7 separate regions of the Homo sapiens genome follow, and regions 2, 3, 4, 5, 6 and 7 are each linked to region 1. Evidence: promoter capture Hi-C in 16 types of primary human blood cells and fetal thymus (Javierre and others, 2016). All regions are on one chromosome and are shown on one strand. The core of a region is centred on a gene start or on the middle of the fragment in contact, and the rest is flanking DNA. Distances in the headings are between cores, read along the strand shown. Region 1 holds the start of LGALS8 (galectin 8). Region 2 overlaps NID1 (nidogen 1). Region 3 has its middle 20 kb from the start of GPR137B. Region 4 holds the start of GPR137B (G protein-coupled receptor 137B). Region 5 overlaps MTR (5-methyltetrahydrofolate-homocysteine methyltransferase). Region 6 overlaps ERO1B (endoplasmic reticulum oxidoreductase 1 beta). Region 7 overlaps ERO1B (endoplasmic reticulum oxidoreductase 1 beta).

Evidence for each region. The method cuts DNA at HindIII sites, captures the fragments that hold promoters and counts their contacts. A CHiCAGO score of 5 or more calls a contact.
Region 2: a contact is called between a fragment that was not itself captured here and the fragment with the promoter of LGALS8 in region 1, in 1 of 17 cell types (M2 macrophages). The highest score is 5.4, in M2 macrophages.
Region 3: a contact is called between a fragment that was not itself captured here and the fragment with the promoter of LGALS8 in region 1, in 15 of 17 cell types (M0 macrophages, endothelial precursors, M1 macrophages and 12 more). The highest score is 13.8, in M0 macrophages.
Region 4: a contact is called between the fragment with the promoter of GPR137B here and the fragment with the promoter of LGALS8 in region 1, in 16 of 17 cell types (M1 macrophages, M2 macrophages, M0 macrophages and 13 more). The highest score is 17.1, in M1 macrophages.
Region 5: a contact is called between a fragment that was not itself captured here and the fragment with the promoter of LGALS8 in region 1, in 1 of 17 cell types (naive CD4 T cells). The highest score is 5.7, in naive CD4 T cells.
Region 6: a fragment that was not itself captured here is called in contact with the fragment with the promoter of LGALS8 in region 1 in 1 of 17 cell types (M0 macrophages); the score reaches 5.5 in M0 macrophages.
Region 7: a contact is called between a fragment that was not itself captured here and the fragment with the promoter of LGALS8 in region 1, in 1 of 17 cell types (naive CD4 T cells). The highest score is 5.1, in naive CD4 T cells.

Annotation. Positions count from the first base shown.
Region 1 is chr1:236,522,433-236,525,451 of GRCh38, reverse strand. It overlaps LGALS8 (galectin 8), which reads right to left and starts at 1,470. Exons shown (of 10, transcript NM_201544.4): 1 at 1,391-1,470. LGALS8-AS1 (LGALS8 antisense RNA 1) reads left to right here and starts at 944. Exons shown (of 1, transcript NR_034040.1): 1 at 944-2,383. RefSeq lists a silencer at 1,128-1,177. The HindIII fragment of the contact is 5,952 bases long and covers 1-3,019 here.
Region 2 is chr1:236,039,562-236,042,580 of GRCh38, reverse strand. It overlaps NID1 (nidogen 1), which reads left to right. Exons shown (of 20, transcript NM_002508.3): 4 at 289-671. Among named protein-coding and RNA genes, the nearest start is that of NID1, 24 kb to the left of the region's middle. The HindIII fragment of the contact is 950 bases long and covers 1,073-2,022 here.
Region 3 is chr1:236,121,207-236,124,225 of GRCh38, reverse strand. No RefSeq gene overlaps it. Among named protein-coding and RNA genes, the nearest start is that of GPR137B, 20 kb to the left of the region's middle. The HindIII fragment of the contact is 1,341 bases long and covers 896-2,236 here.
Region 4 is chr1:236,141,134-236,144,152 of GRCh38, reverse strand. It overlaps GPR137B (G protein-coupled receptor 137B), which reads right to left and starts at 1,614. Exons shown (of 7, transcript NM_003272.4): 1 at 1,117-1,614. The coding sequence starts at 1,530. RefSeq lists an enhancer at 887-1,390 and silencers at 1,356-1,625, 1,696-1,875. The HindIII fragment of the contact is 3,564 bases long and covers 1,407-3,019 here.
Region 5 is chr1:236,860,599-236,863,617 of GRCh38, reverse strand. MTR (5-methyltetrahydrofolate-homocysteine methyltransferase) reads right to left here. Exons shown (of 33, transcript NM_000254.3): 20 at 2,341-2,493; 21 at 1,275-1,382; 22 at 64-164. Among named protein-coding and RNA genes, the nearest start is that of MTR, 67 kb to the right of the region's middle. The HindIII fragment of the contact is 917 bases long and covers 792-1,708 here.
Region 6 is chr1:236,214,216-236,217,234 of GRCh38, reverse strand. ERO1B (endoplasmic reticulum oxidoreductase 1 beta) reads left to right here. Exons shown (of 16, transcript NM_019891.4): 16 at 1-2,134. Among named protein-coding and RNA genes, the nearest start is that of ERO1B, 66 kb to the left of the region's middle. The HindIII fragment of the contact is 1,486 bases long and covers 638-2,123 here.
Region 7 is chr1:236,238,529-236,241,547 of GRCh38, reverse strand. All of the region lies in intron 6 of ERO1B (endoplasmic reticulum oxidoreductase 1 beta), which reads left to right. LOC124904561 (a long non-coding RNA gene) reads right to left here. Exons shown (of 2, transcript XR_007066961.1): 2 at 2,236-2,551. Among named protein-coding and RNA genes, the nearest start is that of ERO1B, 42 kb to the left of the region's middle. The HindIII fragment of the contact is 988 bases long and covers 1,125-2,112 here.

The DNA.
Region 1 (3,019 bases), core at 221-2,720:
CAGCCTGGGCAACAGAACGAGACTCCATCTCAAAAAAAAAAAAAAATTTAATTAATTAATGGTAAATACTAATCAAACAGTCCCGTACAATTACCAGAGGTATTCATTTAGATTTTCATTTCCATAAAATGAGAATTACAGTATTCACATCATTGGTTTGTTCTGAGGATTGAGTTAATAAAACAGCGAAAGAGTAAGCGCTATGTTAGCTATTATTATTGTGAATAGAAAGAATTGCTCTTCCTCCTCCAATTTAAACAAATCAAAGTAGGGAAAAATCCAATACTTTTAATACTATTAAGATACGGTTTTCTCTGTTGCTTAAAAAAATAATAATCACAGGGCAGGGGAGTGTTGGAAAGCATCAGCCACATTTTTTAAGATAAAAGCACTCATGGACACTACACTACATTTAATAGCTCCAGGAAAAACTCGACTTTAAGCAGAACTAAAGGGGAAATGAAACCAGAGCTTCCTGTATTTTACTTCCAGCAATTCTGTCATTATACTGCACACCAACAATACACACCGATCAAATCTATCACTTTTTCTTTATTAAGAAAAAAAACTGTATCCCTCTTGGTTTACCACCTAAATATAGCCCCATGTCATTAACTTAATTCGTTAGTCAAAACCTCAAAACTCTGGCTCCGTGACTCAATTCAGGAAGTAAGAACAAGAGCAAAAAGAATGGATGCCGAGTTGCCATACACATGTATAATAACAAGCCAGTGACCCAATTTAAGCCATCTGCTTGCATTAAATCACGCAACCCCCGAAGTATCCCCAGGGACAGGTCCCGCCAGCATGAACACTTCGTATGCATCACAAGCAGCCATCACTTAAGTTTCACGTACGGTCAAAGGAAGTCACATGACTTGCGCTTTGCAATGTTTAACACTGCAGTCAAATGACTCGGCATCCTAAAGAGCGTGTTAGAGGCAGGGAACGCAATGGAGGTCACTCCACTGTCACTACAAATTCCGGGAAGGAAACTTCCCCAGATTCCTCCACTTGGAGGTGGCGCTCGGCCTCAGGCTAGGAGGGAACAGGTGAGAAAGCAGCCCAGGTGGGGTGGGTTTGCAGCGAGGAGACACCCCAGGGCAAACAGCCTGACCCCAGCCAGGGATGTCCAAGAAAGGCCGCGACTCCTGATAATCCCTTATGCCCCGGAGCGCCTCGCCTGCAGAGGCAGCGTCCCCGCCACCCAGCCCCGGCTCTGCCGCGGTGAGGACCGGCGGGTCGGGGTGGACTGGACACTGTCCCACCCATCAAATGGTGATTTAGGAGCCGTGACATCCGAATGCCATCCTCCACTGGCGAGACCCTCAGAGCAGCCACGCCTCTAGCGACTGCCCCGCCACCCGAGGCCGGGGGTCGCGCGACTCACCCAAAGACTGGTGTTTCAGGCGCTCCACGGAGCAGGTTGTTTGTCAGCAGCTAAGTGCCGTCAGGGTTCCCGGCTCTGGCGTCCGTGGGCGGCTACGGGAAGCGACAGGAGTCAGTCCTCGTTCACTTCCCGGCTCGCGCGCCTCACTGCTGTGGTCTCCCCACCCTCCCCGCGCCCCGCCTTCTGTGTCTGGGGCGTCCCTGGCGGCTCTGCTGGGTTTTGGACAGGGACCCGCCGCTGATCGCCACCCAGCTCGGCCTCCTGCACAGCCTCTGGAGCCTTGGACCGCGACTGGCTTGCTGTGGGACGAGCACAGAGGGATAAGGACAAAGAATGTGTCCTGGGTGGATCTGGCTGCCTTTGCCCGGAAGGCGGAGTGGGGTGGGAGGTGGTAGGAAAATGGGAAGGAAAGAAAAGAAAGGTGGGCCGACGTCCACCTGGCTGTTCCAGGCCTCCAGGTCTAGGAGGGAGGGCGCTCGGGGCTGGGACTTTTCAGGACCAGGGTGGTCACCGCACAGGCCCCGCCTGCCTGGACCAAGCGCTGGCCTTCCCGGGGCGCCCAGGTCCACGGGGTCAACGCCAGGGTTTTCTCAGCTTCCTCGTCTGCCTCGGATCCAAGTCCAGACAGTGCCAGAAGAGACTTGGAGGCGCTGCTTTTTGACAGTACACACCTCTGTATGCAGGTGAAACGGTGGGGGAAGGGTTCAGTACGCTGGACTGTGCCCAGCCCAAGCTCCCCATCCGTTAGTGATAACTTGGACTCGCAGCCACTCCGCGTCACTCGCCAGTTATCCTGCGTGTGGGTGTTTTCTCCAAATTGGACACTTAGGGAACAGTTTAAGCAGTATGGAGCACAATTCTGTGCCTATTAGATGCTCTTAAATACCCGACTTCTCAGGGCCCTACACTGACTGATAGTTTGACCTATTGGCTGTAAACACACCAGCCAGAAATACAAATAAAGTTAAACAAAGTCATGTCAGCCACTTGGAATGGCTGGCTGCTTACTGTTTATTTTCTGTTAGGGACCTCAAAGTTCTCATCTTCTCTACTTGGCTTTTATCCACATTTGTTTGGAAAGATATATTTTAGTGTCATTAACGTGGGCTTTCTCCTCCCTGGCTTTTGTTTTCATTATTTTTTGTTTTAATTGAGGAATTCATTACAAGTCCCATAACTGGGAACTCATGTTCTGATTCACTGTTGCTTTTCTCTCCTCCTTACCCATTTTCCAAGCCTGATGCACTTCTCAAGATCCAATCTGAATAGGTGAATTTACCCTTGACATACACTGCCTTGGATTTATAGCTGTCTTTTGGTATGTGTTGTGTGTTTTATCTATCCAACTCGACTGTAGTTTGAGAAAAGGAACTTGTCTTATACAGTCTCCAGTGCATAGTGTAATGCTTTGCATAAAATAGATATCAATGTTAGGTTGAAATGTTAGATTATTGATAAAGTCAGGAGCAATTGAATATCTTCACAATTCTGCCTGAGTCTCCCCCCAGCCCCGCCACTTTGAGACAGGGTTTCCCTCAAGTGATCCTCCCACCTCAGCCCCAGGAGTAGCTGGGACTATAGACGCACACCACTATGCCCAGCTAATTTAAAAATTTTTTTTTGTAGAGA
Region 2 (3,019 bases), core at 298-2,797, 480 kb after region 1:
AGTTGAATTTTAAGTCCTGATAGTGTCCCTGGAGCACACTTCTGGAATGGCTGGGACTGAGCTTGTGCTAGTATTGTGCCCATTTGGACACAGTCTCACCAGACAGCCCTAGACTGCCTCAGCCACATGACGCCCAGACATGACGGCCAGTGCCCTTCCACTCTCCAGTCCTAGCTGCAGGTGATGGCTTGCAGACCAACACAGATCCTCAGGGCTCCCTCTGCTTGGGTAGTGGTGGCTGTTGGTGGGTTGCTGGCCTGTTTCTAAGAAGCCTGTCCTTCCTCCTAGGAGTAGTAACTCTGGGCAGCAGGGTGTCTGGGTGTTTGAGATTGGGAGTCCAGCCACCACCAATGGCGTGGTGCCTGCAGACGTGATCCTCGGAACTGAAGATGGGGCAGAGTATGATGATGAGGATGAAGATTATGACCTGGCGACCACTCGTCTGGGCCTGGAGGATGTGGGCACCACGCCCTTCTCCTACAAGGCTCTGAGAAGGGGAGGTGCTGACACATACAGTGTGCCCAGCGTCCTCTCCCCGCGCCGGGCAGCTACCGAAAGGCCCCTTGGACCTCCCACAGAGAGAACCAGGTCTTTCCAGTTGGCAGTGGAGACTTTTCACCAGCAGCACCCTCAGGTCATAGATGTGGATGAAGTTGAGGAAACAGGAGTTGGTAAGACCATTTAAGTTGCAGTTGGTAACGATCTTGGATGTGTGGGCTTCCAGACAGGCGTACTGCTGGGGAGATGTCAGTTGTGAGCATTACATGGTGGTTTGTAAAGATAAGAGCTTGGGAAAGTAGAGGCTGAACTCTCACAGCCGTGGAGCCTTGGTGTTATATGCCCAGTGGCTTCAGAGATGCTCAGTGATCTTTTGGGATTAGGACCATGGTTTTGGAGACTGTTGAGTGTGTCTTCTTTCAAGTTTCCTAGTATTCCGTTCTGTCTGTTTTAAAGAGAAAACGTCCGTTAGAATTGTTTTGAAAGTCAGATTTTCTTGTGATTTCTCAGATCAGAAATGTATTCATCCACCTGAAAAAACATTTTAGAAGTTCTTTTGGCTGTCTATGAAGCTTATCTTTGACATTTATTTCCTCTTGGTTTTGGAATTAGAATTGTTGATTATTTTTCTTCCCAGGTCCCGTCAGTTTCAGAGTTGGTTTGTGAAGATTAAAAAATATATATATATCAAAGTAGATACTCTTTAAAAAAAAATAGGGTCGGGGGTGGTGGCTCACACCTGTAATCCCAGCACTTTGGGAGGCCGAGGCAGGTGGATCACAAGCTCAAGAGATTGAGACCATCCTGGCCAACATGGTGAAACCCCATCTCTACTAAAAATACAAAAATTAGCTGGGCGTGGTGACACACGCCTGTAGTCCTAGCTACTTGGGAGGCTGAGGCAGGAGGATTGCTTGAACCTGGGAGGCAGAGGTTGCAGTGAGCCGAGATCATGCCACTGCACTCCAGCCTGGCAACAGAGTGAGTCTCTGCCTCGAAAAGAAAAAAAAAGTTTTACAGTACATTTTCTGGTCAACTATGTTATATCAGATTTTTGCTACATTTTGAGGGAAAATAGAACTCCTGGATGCTTTCATTTTTCTTATAAAAGATGTTCTAGCCAGGCACAGTGGCTCATGCCTGTTATCCCAGCACTTTGGGAGGCCAAGGCGGGTGCATCACCTGAGGTCAGGAGTTGGAGACCAGCCTGGACAACATGGTGAAATCCTGCCTCTACTAAAAATGCAAAACATTAGCCAGGCGTGGTGGCAGGCATCTGTAATCCCAGCCAATCTGGAGGCTGAGGCCAGAGAATCGCTCGAACCTGAGAGGTGGAGGTTGCAGTGAGCCGAGATCGCTCCATTGCCCTCCAGCCTGGTTGGCAAGAGCAAGACTCTGTCTCAAGAAAAAAAAAAAAAAAGATGTTCCAACTAAACTGTCCTCATTATTTTTTTTTCACATTAGTTTGATACGGAATCCACTAAGACTCATATAAATGGGATAGTCCAAGCCTTTAGATAAGCTTATTGCAGCTGTCTGCTGCTTTTCTACTAAGGAATGATCATAAAACTCTTAGAGAAGTCTGGCCCATTCCACACTGTTCACTCATTTTTATTTGCCCTTACTTGTTCTGATTTATCTCACAGCAGTAGCCATACACGCTTGTTCTCACGAGTATCCCAAACTGTGGACGAGATGGGGTGCTTACTGGCTGGCGTGCTGACTTACTTCTGAGGCACGGAAATGGAGAAGCTGCCATTTGGTGGCAGGACAAGGACAGGGGCTCATGTCTTAGGTTCTCCTACTGCACCCTGGGTTCCTGGGGTGATGCTTACATTGCTCAGCACATGCCACTCTGCCGTGGGTTTTGGAGTCATCTCCCCCAGATGTGTTGGGTGTGTTTCCTTGCATATGTTGGGTTTTGAGTTCCATCCTGTCTCCACCCTTTCTAGGTGTCTCTGAAATTCTCATTTGTGAAGCCATCACATTTGAATGAGACCATATCCAGCCCAACAACTTGGGGCAGTGTATTACTTAAGACTGAAAAAAGCCTAGATTTGAACGCAGATTGTGTCTAAAACAGATGTTTTCCTGTCCCTCTACCCCAGTTATTTCCCTATGTTGAAGAGAAAGGTCAGTCTTCTGTGGCCAGTAGTGCATTCCTGGTGTTATTTGAATAGTTCACATGTACACAGGCCATAATGACCCCTGAGAGCTCTGCCCACAGCTGGAGTTTAAGTAATCAGCGGCATCACGTGTTCAGTTCAGGGCTCAAGTGTGCTCGGCTCCAAACGCTGTCTTTATAAAGCCAGAAATTCCCTTCCGAGTATGTAGGACTCATAGAGTCTACCTGGGTTTAAACTTTGCTTTTCTCTTCACTCGTAACAGTCAATTATGAATGGGATCATTATCTTCTCTGAAAGTTTACCCCTCTTGTGCTTTTGAATTTCATTCCAAATTAATTTGCTCGGGATTATTAAATATAATGAGCTAGTTCATGATTCTAATAAAACAAAGTTGG
Region 3 (3,019 bases), core at 317-2,816, 400 kb after region 1:
AAACAATCAAGACAACTTCTCTAGTTGAACATATTTGAGAAAAGCAGGGCTAGGCAAGGTGTGCTAGTCGGCTTGAGCTGCCATGACAAAGTGCCACAGACTGGGAGGCTTGAATGACACAAATCTCCAGTTCTGGAAGCTGAAAGTTGGAGGCCAAGGCGTTGGCAGGGCTGGTTTCTCCTGATGCCACTCTCCTTGGTCACAGACAGCCTCCCTCCCCTGGGTCCTCACATGGGCTTCCCTCTGTGTGTGTCAGTATCCTAATCTCCACTTCTCATCAGGACCAGTCATATCCGATTAGGACCCACACTAATGGCCTCATTTTACCTTAATTACCTCCTTCTATTTGGAGAGAAGGCCCTCTCTCCAAATACAGTCACATTCTGGGTACTGCGGGTTAGAGCTTCAACATGTGAATTCCGGGGGAAGTACCCAGCCTGTGACACAAGGCTCACCAGGTCATCTGAGGTGAGTGGTGGCGGAAGGGAAGATTGCCTGTGATCATCATTCCTGCTGCTCATTGGCTTCTCTCTCTGTGCCAGGCTCTGTTCTATGTACTTTTCATGCAGTCAGGAAGTAACTCCTATTATCCTTGTAACGACCAATGAACTGACACTTCCCAGGAAGAGCAAAACAAAACAAGGCCCAAGTATCCGGATTGGTCTTGGACTGGAACAGGAAAGATGCAGGCAGATGATGGTTCACTGGAGTAGGCCCTGTTCAGCGTGTGCTTTCATCCGTCTGTAACACACATTGCAAACTCACCTTGTTGCTTGTCCAATGTGTTGGTTTCAAGATCATTAGTTAATCAAATCCACCAACAGATTTACTAAATGTACTGAATTTACTAAAGATTTACCTGGTGTTGGGCATGGAGCAAGACAGTTGGAAAGCTTGCAAGGGTAAGACATGATCCTGTAGGGGAAGTGCTTTCATGGTTACTTGTAGGCAGATATAGAAACTCTGGAAAATAGAAAGAGTGAATAATACTGAGTATTTGATCACACACTGAGGACTGTGGTCCATAATGGTTTAATTGTATATTTTAAAATGGCAGCCAGGCGCAGTGGCTCACGTCTGTAATCCCAGCAGTTTGGGAGGCCGAGGCGGGTGGATCACCCAAGGTCAGGAGTTCGAGACCAGTCTGGCTAACGTGGCAAAACCCCGTCTCTACTAAAAATACAAAAATTAGCCAGGCATAGTGGCGGGCGCCTGTAGTCCCAGCTACTCGACAGGCTTAGGCAGGAGAATTGCTGGAATCCGGGAGGCAGAGTTTGCAGTGAGCCGAGATAGGGCCACTGCACTCCAGCCTGGGCAACAGAGCAAGACTCCATCTCAGAAAATAAAGTAAAATAAAATAAAAAAAAAAAATAAACTCTGGAATGCTATGAATAAAACCAATAGTAATGGTTAAGGGTGGGACCTGGGGAGGTGTGGACAGAGGAGCAAGGGAACGTTGTCACTGTATGCATTTTGTATATTTTTATTTTTTTGAGTTGTTTATCTACTTGGCCTGTTCACAAAAATTATGTTGAGAGGGACAGAGAGACAGAGTGTTTGTCAGACATGAGCCCCTCCTCAAGGGGCTTATAACTAGTCACGTTGGCATTAGGCCTTGGCTTTAACAACACAGCAAGGCTAAAATGATTTCACTTTCTCCAGGCAAGAGCCTATGAGAGTAAATGGGACTAGAACCATGATCCTTACTTTGCAAGTAAAGAACTGAGGTCAAGAGAGAGCATGTGGATACGACCCCATGGTGAGTCGGGGTTCACGCCTGAACACAGGGAAAAGTCCCTGATTCATCATTTGAAACCCTCTTCACTGCGTATGTGGTTGGCCCTTTGAGAAGTTGATGGAAGTTTCTGTTAAAGTCATTCAAAGAATATGTTTTGAGTCAAAATGCCCATGGTCCCTGGCCTCTTGGGGTTCACATTTTAGTGGAGAAAATAAGGTAGATACTCAAATGAGCCTATGAGTACACGTTGTAGTAAGTCCGATGAAGAGGAAAAAGAGATGCTACGAGGAGGAATAGCCAGGGACAACACTTGGGCTTGGGTGGTCAGGGGAAGCTCTGGCTCATTGACATTCAGCTGAGATCCACCGAGCTACGAGAGGGCTGTTGAGGTGTGGACAGGACTGTAAAAGGGAAGGGTCATTCCTTGAGCCCAAAGCCTGTGGTCTTCTAATACAATGTCATTCGTGGGTTCCCTGTTGGCTCATCAGCTACCAAGCTTGGTACCAGGCAATTTGGGATAGGATGAAAACAAAGTCGAAAACATGCTCTTTGACCCCAAAAAACTTACCTCCTAATTGGAGAAGTGAAAATAACCCAGAAACAACCACAGAGTGCTTTAGAGAGTCATGGGATATGGCCGGGCATGGTGGCTCACGCCTGTAATCCCAGCATTTTGGGAGGCTGAGGCGGGTGGATCACCTGAGGTCAGGAGTTCAAGACCACCCTGGGCAACATGGTGAAACCCCATCTCTACTAATAATACAAAAATTAGCTGGGCATGGTGGCGCGTGCCTGTAATCCCAGCTACTCGGGAGGCTGAGGCAGGAGAATCGCTTGAACCCGGGAGGCAGAGGCTGTGGTGAGCCGAGGTCGTGCCGCTGCACTCCAGCCTGGGCAACAACAGCAAACTCCATCTCCAAAACAACAACAACAAAAAAGAGTCTTGGGTTAGGGGAGGAAAGAAGGAGAGATGCAACCAGGTGTGATTGATTTAGCAGGTGGAAAAGTGGGGAAGGCCTACCAGGCAGAGAATCGAGGTGGGTAGACTAGTCTCGTGGAGACAGACCATGGTCCTGGAGTCATTGATGTTGAATCCCAGCTCCTCCGTGTGCCCGCTGGGTGACACTGGGCAAGTTATTTTTTCTGTCCAAACTTCAGTCTTCTAATCTGGAAATCAAGTTATGTTTTCTACTTCTTATGTGGCTGCAAACATTAAATGAAGTAAGATGAATGTAGGATTTTGGAGAACGAAATGCCTGTGGCCCACAGCTGCCTACGATG
Region 4 (3,019 bases), core at 365-2,864, 380 kb after region 1:
TGCGCCACCGCATACGGCCTCTTTCTTTTTTTAAATAAGTGACTTTTTCTCAAAAAAAAAAAAAAAGACACTTAAAAGGAATGAGATGCCTGCTTGCACAGGGTTTCTGCCCATCCGACAGTTCTGAAATTACCCTCACCAGGTGACACCGTTGACGCCTTCCCCTTCGGCAGAGTCCTAGTGAAAATGGACATCTTAGTGCTTGGAAAGCTAATGGGAATCAGAGATGATGATGACGATGATGACGGCGGCACCGCGTTATTAAACCTTTGTGCAACGCTATACAAAGTATTTGCAAAGTGCTCAACAATTACTGCACTTTCATTAAGTCAACCATCAGCAGTAAAGCAGCAGCCAAGTTAATTCACATACTCTCCCATTAGCTTATTTAATAATATGCCCCATAAAGTGATTTTTGTGTGGCTGTAAAAGAGCCCCAGTCAGCTTTTATGGCCTTTTCTTGGGGCCTCTCAGATGAGCTCAGACAGTAACTCTGATGAGCGGCAGCAGCTCGGAGCTGGGTGTTACCCCAGCCTGCTGTTTAGCAATCCGGTGGAATGAGTTAGTAAGCCGCAGTTCTGTAGAGCTCCTAAGCCGGAGGTTCAAAACATCTCATCAAAACCAACATGGTCTCACCCTGCCAACGCTCAAAACAGCAGTGTCAGGCCCAAATCTGGAGGCCAACGTGCAGAAGACCTTTCCAGGCCGGGAGTTAGGTGCCTGGGGAGGCAGGGCAAATTCTAGAGTTCAGGCCTCCCTTGGGGGCACACCTTCCATCCGTACTAACTGGCGTGTGCAGGCGCTGCTGCTTCGCGCTGCGCACGGAGAAGCGCCCCGAATCCACCGCACGATGCGGAGCCAGGGGCAGCGAGTGAGCGGCGGCCTCCAGCCCTCCCCTGCCTTCTCCTTGCCCCTTTTGGGAATGGCAGGGGGTTTCCTATGACAAATGCCCGCAAACAGGACAGGGTTCGGACGACCCCAGAGCCGGCGCCTTCTCCCTACACTCTCAGCCCTAGGGCCGGACCCGCCCCCGCGGCTGCCATCGCCCCTGCCTCGGGCGCCCCGCGGGGACCACCCCGCCAGGTGAGCGCCTCCAGGAGCCTCTCTGAAACTCACCTGCGTGAAGTACAAGTTCATCAGCGTGAGGGTGAAAAACTGCAGGCACACAGGGAAGCAGTAGAGCAGCCAGAAGACGAAGGGGCTGAGCGAATTGGCCGCCACGAAGTCTTTGAAGTAGAAGGAGAAGAGGACGGTCCGCAGGGAGGCCCAGAAGAGGCAGAGAAAGAGGAAGACGCTCTGGTAGCTGAGCCGCTTGTGGCGGTAACGCAGCACCAGCCAGAGCTGCACGTAGATGAACACGAAGAGCAGCGCGTAGAACACGGTGTAGACGACGGTGAGGCCAAGCTTCACGTAGGGGGGCACGGCCGGGGTCAGCGTGGGCGGCAGCGAGTCGTTGCGGGCTGGGTCCCACGGCGGGGTCTCCATCGGGCCGGGGGCGCTGCCGCGCGGCCGGGGACGCTCGGGCCTCATCGGGGCTCACGGCCGCCGCCGCCCCCGCGGGGGTCTCCGCGCATCGCGCTCAGCCTGCAGCCCCGAGACTGGAGGAAAGAAAACAAGCCGCACTTCCTCCCCCGGCACCACATGATTCACTGGGACGGCCTTTGTCTGCGATTGGCAGCGCCGCGCCCGCCGCCCCCGCGCGCCGACCGGCCCCGCGCGCCCCCGCCCCGGCCCGCGCGCCCCCGCCCCGGCCCGCGCGCCCCGGCCCGCCCTCCCCCGGGCACCGCGCGCCTTCGCCCCGCGAACCCCGGCCCGCCCTATCCTCGCCACCGCGCGCTCCCGCAGTGCGCGCCCCCAGAGCCGCACGCCTCCTCCCGGCCCCCTCCCCATCCCCGGGGCCGCGCGCTCCCAGACTGCGGGCCCCCAGAGCCCCGCGTCTCTTCCCCCCTTCCCGCCCCCTCCCCATCCCAGGGGCCGCGCGCTACCCGTCCCCGGCCCCTTCCCCATCCCCGGGGCCGCGCGCTCCCGCACTGCGCGCCCCCAGAACCGCGCGCCTCCTCCCCGGTCCCGGCACCGCGCCGCGCGCCCCCAAAACTTCCCAGCCGCGCCCCGCGCCTCGGGGGATCGCACTCGTGGCCTCGCGCATTCTGCTGCTGATTGCTTGTTTTGCAGAAGTTAATTCCTTTATTTAAAAACAAATTTAAAAAAAAAACTTTACAAGTCCTTTCCGTCCCCCCCTTTAAAAATAAAACTTTACGACTCTGTGGCTATGAACTGGCCGGCGTCTGGAATGATGTTTATTTCTAAATGCAGACATGCCAAAGACAGGGTTCGTATTTTTGAGGTCAAATTTGTATACTGAGTGAGGAAATAGACGGTGCCTGCGGCTGCTGCCTCCTCTGGGATGCAAGCTGGGCTGTTTTCTCCCGGAGAGCCTCACGCGCTCCCAGCGCCTCACCTCCCAGCGATGTAGCCGGTGCCGGGAGGCGCGCGGGCCGCGGGTCAGTGGATGGAGCCCACTGGGCTTCAGAGAGAAGTGGGGCAGCTGACGGCACACGGCCCCCCTTGTCCGATCCAACCCATGCCGAAGGAGGGTCTGTCCCCGCCACCCGAGAGCCCTTCTCTTTTGCTTTTGCTGAGCAGCTCGCTCCTCGAGGCTGTACAGCGACTTAGTCTTTGCCCCGGGGCACCACGCCACCCTTGTCTTGGGAGAGCTGGGGAGTGCTCTGGGAAAAGAGGGAAAGCCGGGCGCCCTCTGGAAACATTGCTGGGCAAGCGGTTCTGGTAAACAGAAGAAACTCGGATTTCCGAGGCTCCAGTAATTGTGATTTCTTTTCTTACTCCACTTCGTGCCTAATTGTGTGTTCTTTTTCCAAAAGACGGCCTGGCATATCCAGAATCCACCCTAGCTTTTGCTCAGAATTACTTAGTGGTTACAGCGCTCCCAGCGTATTCCAGGTGGTTCACTGGGGCCAAGTGTGCCTTTGGCGTGGAGCTCCTTTTCCAGTTTTTCTATCCT
Region 5 (3,019 bases), core at 1-2,500, 340 kb before region 1:
TCTGTTAAAAGGCTTTCATTTTTAAATGGAAAAGGGGTTGAAAGAGGTGAGGTCCTAACTTACCGGAAATTATTGCAGCCAAGGACTACTCCAACTATGTTCTTGCCTATGTCGTGCACGTCGCCTTTAACAGTGGCCAGCACGATGGTGCCCTGGTAAGGGTCCTGGAAAGGAAGCCAAGCAGCTCAGCAAGGCAGGGTTGTTTAGGGTGGAACACCTAGTTCTCCAGAGCCAGGCAGGGGCCAGCACAGAAAGCAATTCAATACAACCAAGAGCACCTCAAAGACAGACCTGGAAACCGAAGCCCAAACAGTTCAAAGGAGGCCCACCTAATGGGCTAGCCCAAGGGGCTTCAGCCAAGATCAGGAGGTCCCATCCTTTCAAAGAATAGTTGATGTTCACACACAAAACAGCACCACAGCTGAAGACCACATCCTTAACTCTGGGTGCGGGGGAACTTATTTGACAAATGTTTACGGTTAGCCATTAAGGGAGAGGCAGGGGAGAGGGGAAGGAACAGGTTAACTGTATGTGTATGTCCCATCTGAATCTGAAAAACCACAACAGCCCAGACAGAGGGCACGTGAGTATCTTTCCTCAGCACTGTTGTTCTATGCACAGTTAGCATCCCCCACTACTGCCCCAAAAAAAGAAAAAAAGCAAAACAAGAAGGATTTTTATAAACTCTGTGTTTGTCTGAGCCATTCACAAACAGATCAATTTAAAAATTCAGAATCCTAGGGGCCAAAGCTGTCTGAGCTTCACAGGGAGCTAAACAAGGTCAAAAAGCTTAATGATTTACTCTGGTGGTGCAGCCAACAAGAATTAAATTGAATCCAGAAGTGGTGCCAAGGACATCACCAGCAGAAAGACTATTCAGTTAAGAGTTTTCTAAAAACAAGCATGACTCAATGACCTCAAGGGCGGGGACAGACCTTTGAGTGAGCAGTGCCTGGCACAGTACTTGGCACATCACAGCAGCTTCGTAAATGATCAGGTAATGAAGGCACAAATGAATGAACTGGCTTTGTCTTGAAAACATGGGTTTTGATTGAAAAATTGTATCTATATTAAAAATGTTATAAAGCTACATTCAAAAGAAAGTCCCAGAGTATTCTGATACTCGGTTAAAAAAGGGAGAGATGTGGGATCATTTCTCTATTTTATCCTCAATAACGAACACAGCCAACCCTGACTGCTTAGGCCCCTACCACCACCTCAAGTCTTCCAGGTCAACCCACTAAAGGCCCATAGGCCTGAACAAAATGACTTGCCTCTTCTTCTACTGTGCCGTTAAGCACTCTGGTTTCTTCTCTTTCTTTTTCCATGAAAGGGATAAGGTGGCCAACAGCCTTCTTCATAACCCGGGCTGACTTTATAACCTGAGAAAAAAAGCATAGATCAGGTATCTTTCCCAAACCACAGGAACAACTGCTGATGGCCACTTGTGAAATTTGGGCACACATTAGGAATGCATGCTTTGACTTCAGGACAGCTACACTGGAGTCTTTTGACAGTAGGCAGAACAAAGGATAAGCTCCCCAGAGGGAAAGCCAGTGAATAATAAGGTACAGCAGAAGGAAAACAAGGCTGGAAATCAAATGTTGCAATTTCTGTCTTCTGAACTTTGGCTTGTTTTTTTTTCCTCTGTCTAGGAGGCCCTCTATCTTTTATCCAAGAGTTCTATGTATCCTTCAGGACCAAAGCTTCTCCACCATGAGCTCATTCCCAGCCTTCTCTTCTCAATCCCCAGCTTTAAAACTCACTTAAAATCCAGTCTTACATTAAGGCAAGATGAAGGCCTTTTAGTTTCTCAAATGCCGCACAGCCACTAACCTACATGCTCAACAAGTATGTGTTAACTGATGTGGTTAGCAGCTGCTGTAAATCAAAGTAAGAGTTCTGGTTTTACTTTAAACAAACCACTTAATGTACCGTCATTTAAAACAGTAACATTTGTCTCAAAATATGCATCCTTACAGATGAACAGTGCCTGGTCAAATCAAGTCTTAATGTTAGTAACTCTACATTTATCTTGGGTTTTACTTTACTTTTGGAGGGGAGAGATAGGCACTGGGGGTAAGAGGTGATACAAAAATTAGAACATAAGGATTATGATAGATTATGATGCTAAGAATTTTCGGATTTCCAACATCCACACCACTCTGAAGACGGATTCTTGCAGACATGACTCCTAAACATATTTAGAGAAGGAATGACTAGCCAATACCATTGAACTCTTGTCCAAATTAAAACCTGAGAAATATATCCCAAATCGCCATTTATTAAATGACAAAGAAAAGATGCAACTGTGAAAATTTCTCCCCATATTTTGCTAACCTGAGGTAGAAACATTTTTCCAGCTCCAAAAAGATCACCAACAATTTTCATTCCATTCATCAGGGGTCCTTCAATTATATTGAGAGGTCGGGGATATTTTTTTTGGTTTAACCTGGCTTCCTCAGTATCCTCAATAATATGTTTTTCAATGCCCTAAAAAAGACAAAAAAAAAAAAAAAAGAAAAAGAAAGAAAGAAAAAAAAAATCACCTAAAAAACTGCCTTACCTCCACAGAGCCATCATGAAAATGCCTAACAGCACAGGTTCCAGAAGCAGAGTGCATGGACTCAATCTGGCTTCCTATCACTAATTTAGGCAATTCAATAAGCCTCAGTTTCCTCAATTAGAATATTACAATAGTATCTCATATGTTTATTTTGAGGATTGAGATAAAGTGCTTAGCTGGCTTTATTGATACAAACAAAGTAAATACCTCATACACTTCCAAAACAGAATGTTGTATGCAGTAAATACATACAATTTTATATGCCAATTAAAAAATGCTTTAAAATATACCTCAGTAAAATGTGCTAACAGAGAAGGACTAATAAGTTCAAATGCATAAAATCCATTTTGTATCTTCGTGTTTTACCAGATTATACATTAATAAATGCCTGTGGAGAAATCAGTAAGTTTTCTCACTGTAATGCTGTAGGGCTGGGGAGAAATGACACTGGAT
Region 6 (3,019 bases), core at 131-2,630, 310 kb after region 1:
CAGGTACAAGATCTAGAGTTTTTCCTTAGACTCTTTAGTCTTTTCTGAATTAAAGAATAAGTGCTCTTAAATCCATATTTTATCCTGTCAAAGTCTGAAATGTGTTCATTGATGATTTGGTGACATCTAAAAAATTGTATTTAGTTGGCTTGGCTCACCCCTCTTAAAAATACTTAGCCATCTCTTGGTGGGATGTGGTGGGGGTATTAAGGTCTCAGAGTTATTTATTTTCTCACCTAATTTCAAACCTTTATAAACTTGGGGTTTTGTTGTTGATGGTGGTAGTATTTTTTGTTAAGTTGTTTAAAAGGCTGACTTGATTGGAGCCTCCTCTACTTTTTCTTGAGGGTTGCAAGTATTGTATGGTGGGGGAGGGGGGCCTTAAGGCAAACTGTCTAAAAAGTGACTATCCAATTAATTTAACTAGTAAATTAGTAAGAATTATTCTTAGTATTCACTCAGAGTTTAAGATGTGAAAAATCTGCACTTTGTTTATCACTCTAAATGTAAAGAACTTTTTGATAGTGTTATTTCACCACTCCCTCAGTTAAAGGCTATTATTTAAACTGTTTACTGGAGAAAATCCTCGCTCATGTCCATTTATTGTTTTTTTCTGTACTGTGATTTGTTTCAAGCTTAGGAAAACTAGTATATTAGAGTATGTTCTAGGAAATTAAAAGATCTGGTTAGAGTAAAAAGTTCTTTTTAAGGTTCTTAACTAATTTTTTCACAACTAAGAAAATAAATGAAGTATTCTTAGGCTGAAATTCATCTTATTTTATCATAAATTAGATTGTAGGGGCAGCCTACATTTTTGTGTATGTGTTTTTATTTCTTAAATGATTGTGTGAGCCTGGTGACATTTTATGGTTCTTGTGATCTAAACTGTTTTTCCAATTCACATCTTTTGTCGTGAAGTGATATTATACTAGAGTACTGTTTGCATTGTAAAAATGCTTTGCTGGTGCTCTGGCATTTTGTCTTTATCTCATCACCTAATTTAAAAACCCAGCACTTGATAATATAACTGACAGAAATGATTGTACCCACTGATGAAGTAATGAAAATGAAGAAAAGGAAAATATTCCTTCCTTCAATGGCGTAAGTTTATTTTTTACTTAAGTGGCATCTATGTAAGTTAGACAAACTATATATTAAAATTGGTAAACTTTGAATGTTTCTCCTGTTTTGATTCTTAGATTATGAGGAGGATCAGACAGAATAAGACTCCACACTTTTGAAATTTGATAAGTCAAAACGTTTTATTTTGACATTTTTAACATTGTGAATTATTCGATATTTGTAATCTCTGTATGTATATGAAACTCTGCCATGTTTTTCAACTTTGCCTATGTGCCACTGTATATAAGAAAGGACAGCTATTTTGATCTTCATCAGCATTGCCTTCAGCTGAAAATTTGGGAACAGTTCACAGTAAACCTCTCAGTAGTTTGCAAACTGAGGTACCTGCAGAAACCATAGCTACTCACCAAAATACACAGATTAGGTGCATGGTATCGTGGAAATTATTTGGTAAAAAAACACACACACAAATCTATGTGTACTGTATTTTAAGGAATATCTACAGGTGCAGCTTTGATTTTGAACAGAATTCCAAATAATTTACTGTTGTACCCACCAGAATCTAGAAAATGTGAATTAAAGTACATGTTTCTGCAATCTTTTCTGTCTTGTTTTTCCCCGCTATTTTAAGTGTTTCTTTTTATGGCATGAGAATTTGATTGTAACCTGTGGAGAAGGGAGAAAATGTATTTATAAGTAGTCTGAGGTTGTTTCTTATCATAATGGCAAGCATTGGCTGGCATTGTATTAAGGGCTTTTACATGCATAGTTTGGCTTTAAAAGAATACACCGTTAATCTTCACAATAGCACTAGTAGGTAGGTACAATTACTTCTCTGTTTTATAAGTAAGAAGACTGAGGATAAAAAAGGCTAAGTAACCTGTCCATAGTCACAAATTCTAGGTTGTGGAGCAAGAATTTGAGACGAGAAAGACTGATTCTAGAACCTTTGTGACATTTTGTAAGTTGGCCTATTTCCATTCAGCTACAAAGTGGGAACAATTAAAAGCATTGTTTGATTTGTATTGAATCATAAAGCTTATAAAATATGCTTATCTTATTTAATTTTTTGAATAGGTAATACATTCACATGGTTAAAAGAAACAAACAATATAAAAAGTTATTCAGTGAATGTGTTCCTGTGTCCTTGGCCCAGCTTCCTCCACTGCACACTCATCTCCCACCATGAATAGCCTGTGCTCTTGGTTTCTTAGGTTTCCATTCACACTGTTGTAGACAGGTACAAACATATACAAATGGAAAGTCTTATTTTTTCTCTCATTTTTACTCAAAAATTGACATCATATACATACGACTTCATTTTTTTCACCTAGTATTTCTTGGCAGTCTTCACATATGACTAGATAGTTTTCTCATTTTTTGAAGTAGATACTTGGTATTCTGTTATGTGAATGTGCCAGTGTTGAATTAACCCGTCCTCTATTAATGGGCAGCTGGGTTGTTTCCAGACCTTGTACATATGTCATTTCACATTTATATAAATATTGTACCTGTAGAATAAATTCCCAAAGATAAGAATTTTGGGGGCAAAGACTGTGTGCATTTATAATTTTGAAAGATATTGGCATATTGTCCTTCATAGGGGTAGTCATCAATTCACATACCATCTAAAATTTATGATAGTACTTGCTAACCTGCAACATTACCAATGTAGATGTTATTAAAATGTTGGATTCTGGCCATTCTGGTAGATGAAAATTTATATCAATGTGTACATTCTTTTATTTTCCTTAAAAAAGAGACAGGGTCCCACGTTATCACCCAGGCTGGAGTGCAGTGGTATGATCATAGTTCACCGTAGCCTCAAACTCGTGGGCTCAAGTGATCCTCCAGCCTTAACCTCCCGAATAGCCTGGCTTATAGGTGCACGCCACACACCTGACTGCTCAGTATGTAAATTTTTACTATGCCTAAG
Region 7 (3,019 bases), core at 369-2,868, 280 kb after region 1:
GTTTTGAGATGGAGTCTCACTCTGTTGCCCAGGCTGGAGTGCAATGGCACAATCTTGGCTCACTGCAACCTGTCTCCTAGGTTCAAGCAATTCTGCCTCAGCCTCCCTAGTGGCTGGGATTACAGGCATGCACCACCATGCACAGCTAATTTTTTTTTTTATTTTTAGTAGAGACAGGGTTTCGCCATGTTGGCCAGGTTGGTCTCAAACTCCTGACCTCAGGTGATCCGTCTGCCTTGGCCTCCCACAGTGCTGGGATTACAGCCATCAGCCACCGTGCCTGGCCTATAGTAGTTTTTAAAATTACTGTCAGGGTAGCTTTAGAATCATTGTTTAGTTATTGCTGTTTCCCAAATTCAGTGGATTAAAACAAAAATATAAAGAATATTCACCCAGTTTACTAGGGAATATGTCCATTTCCTGCTGTTTTGCTGTTGATAATGACTTCATTTGAATGGAAGATGATCCCTATAGATCAAATAGTAGTTTTTAAAATAATTTAGTAATTTAATATCCTTTAAGGTAAACTGCTTTCCCTACCACTCTTTTTTGTTGTTGTTGTTACTGTCTTTATCATGGCTTGCTTCTTGTTCATGTTTCTCCTCAAATGTCACTTTATCAGAAAAGCCTGCTCTCATCTCGCTGTGTAAGATAGTAGCCACTATCACTCCCTGTCCCTTTGCTTTGATGGCCCCCACCCTGCCCAAGCACTAACAACTGTCTGACAGTATATGGCATATTATTGAGTGTATCGGTTTCTTGTCAGTCTTCCCCAGCTAGATTGTGAGCTATTTGAGGGCAAGGGCTTTGTTTTTGGTTCACTAATGTATCCCTAGTGCCTAGAATGGTGCCTGGACGTGGTAGATGCTTAGTAAATACTTGCTGAATGAACTAGTTGGTTCATAAAAAGCCTAAATAGCATGATAGATTTTTAGTTTTATTTTTTCCCTTAAAATATGTTCATTAATAAATTTAATGTTTAAAACAGTAGTTTCTAAATCTGGTTGTGTATCAAAATTTTTTGAGAGCTTTATAAACTGTAGCTTCTCCTTGACTGTAAATCATGTTTTAATAGTGAGTTAGTAGCAGTTTGGGGTAGGGTTGGTGATGGAGGGCTTTAAGCTTAATCCTGAGTCTATAATACAGTATTTTTTTATCTGTGACCGTAGCAAAGAGCTTGCACACTAAGTTGTTCTGTATGCTACCATTAATGTTTAAGAGATATATGAGTTAGGAAGTAGGGAGGAAAGTTTAACATCCTAGAAAATGTGGTATGACCTCATAACTCTATTAAATTAGGACAGTGGAAAGGAAATTCAGTTAGAAAAAAATCGTATACTTAAGGCCAGGCACGGTGGCCCATGCCTGTAATCCCAGCACTTTGGGAGGCTGAGGCAGGTGAATCACCTGAAGTTAGGAGTTTGAGACTGGCTTGGCCAACATGGCAAAACCCTGCCTCTACTAATAATACAAAAACTAGCCAGGCGTGGTGGTACATGTCTGTAGTCCCAGCTACATGGGAGGCTGAGGCAGGAGAATTGCTTGAACCCGACAGGCAGAGGTTGCATTGAGCTGAGACCATGCCATTGCACTCCCCACTGCTCAACAGAGTCAGCCTCATCGCAAAAAAAAAAAATATATATATATATATATATACACACACACACACATATACACATATATATATACATATATACACATATATATATACACATATATATACACATATATATATACACACATATATATATATATATACTTGAAGAGGAGGAAATAACACTAGTTCAACTTCATGAATTCCAAGAATAAGGAATTATGAAGCTGCTTTGTAGAGGCAGAAAGAAGATAAAACTTTTGTGGGAGAGGGTCATAGTAGAGGGCCAGATAATTTAGAGAGAATTATCTGAATGAATGACGCAGCTGTGCAAACTGAGACAAGTTTCAGTTGAACAAATGAAAATCAGTGTCACAGATGGCCCAGGGATAAGGATGGGCACTACCAGCTAGTGTGTTTGTAGAGAACTTGGCCTGTAGATGCTTTCTGCCACACACGTTGCTCACTCTGGATGTCCCATGAAATTCTTGTCAGTATAGAGCAGAGGTTGGTAAGCTTTTTAAGAAAATGGACTAATGGTAACTATTTTAGGCTTTATAGACTGACTATAGGGTCTCTGTTGGAATTACTCATCTCTGCCATAATAGTGTGAAAGCAGTATGTAAACAAATGAACATGGCTGTGTTCCATGAAAACTTTATTTACAAAAATAAGCAGCAGGCCAGATTTGGCACACAAGCTGTAGTTTGCAAACTCCTTGTATAGGTTAACAAAACCCACTCTTTTCATGATTTGAAAAAGTATTACAAGATTTTTTTAAAAAGTATTGATTAAACTAAGGGAATAAACATTAAGAACATTGAAAATGTAAGTTTTACTTAAGTAGTTATAAAACCTGATGTAATTGAGCTGTGTGTCGTGGTGAGCACCTGGAGTCCCAGCTACTTGGGAGGCTGAGGCAGGAGGCTTGCTTGAGCTCAGGAGTTCGAGTCCAGCCTGCACAACAAAGTAAGACCACTTTTCTTAAAAAAGAACAATGAAAAACCTGATATAATTGATTTTCCTCTTGTGATTTTTTAGCTCCCTTAAAGTATATTTTAAATCATCATGGTTTAATATCTGAATCATGGTTTTTCTTCTTTATTGGTTATTTGGTTGGTTTTCTTGGGAAAAGAGGTTGGTACTAGTCCAATTTGCACGTTTGTAGAGGATTCTATACACATGTAGTCCTACATGTACACACACATACACAAATTATTTATAAATATATAATATATATGTGTCAGAGAACATAAATTAATGTTATATTGTGAAGCTTATATATAATTCAGTTTTGCAGATGAATTTATTCAAGAGCAGCTTATGGAGATTAAAACTATACAACTTAGAAATTAAATACTGAATTTTAAGATTTTTTTTCTTTCCTAAAAGCCATACTTTCTTTTTTTTTTTAAAAAAAAAAAA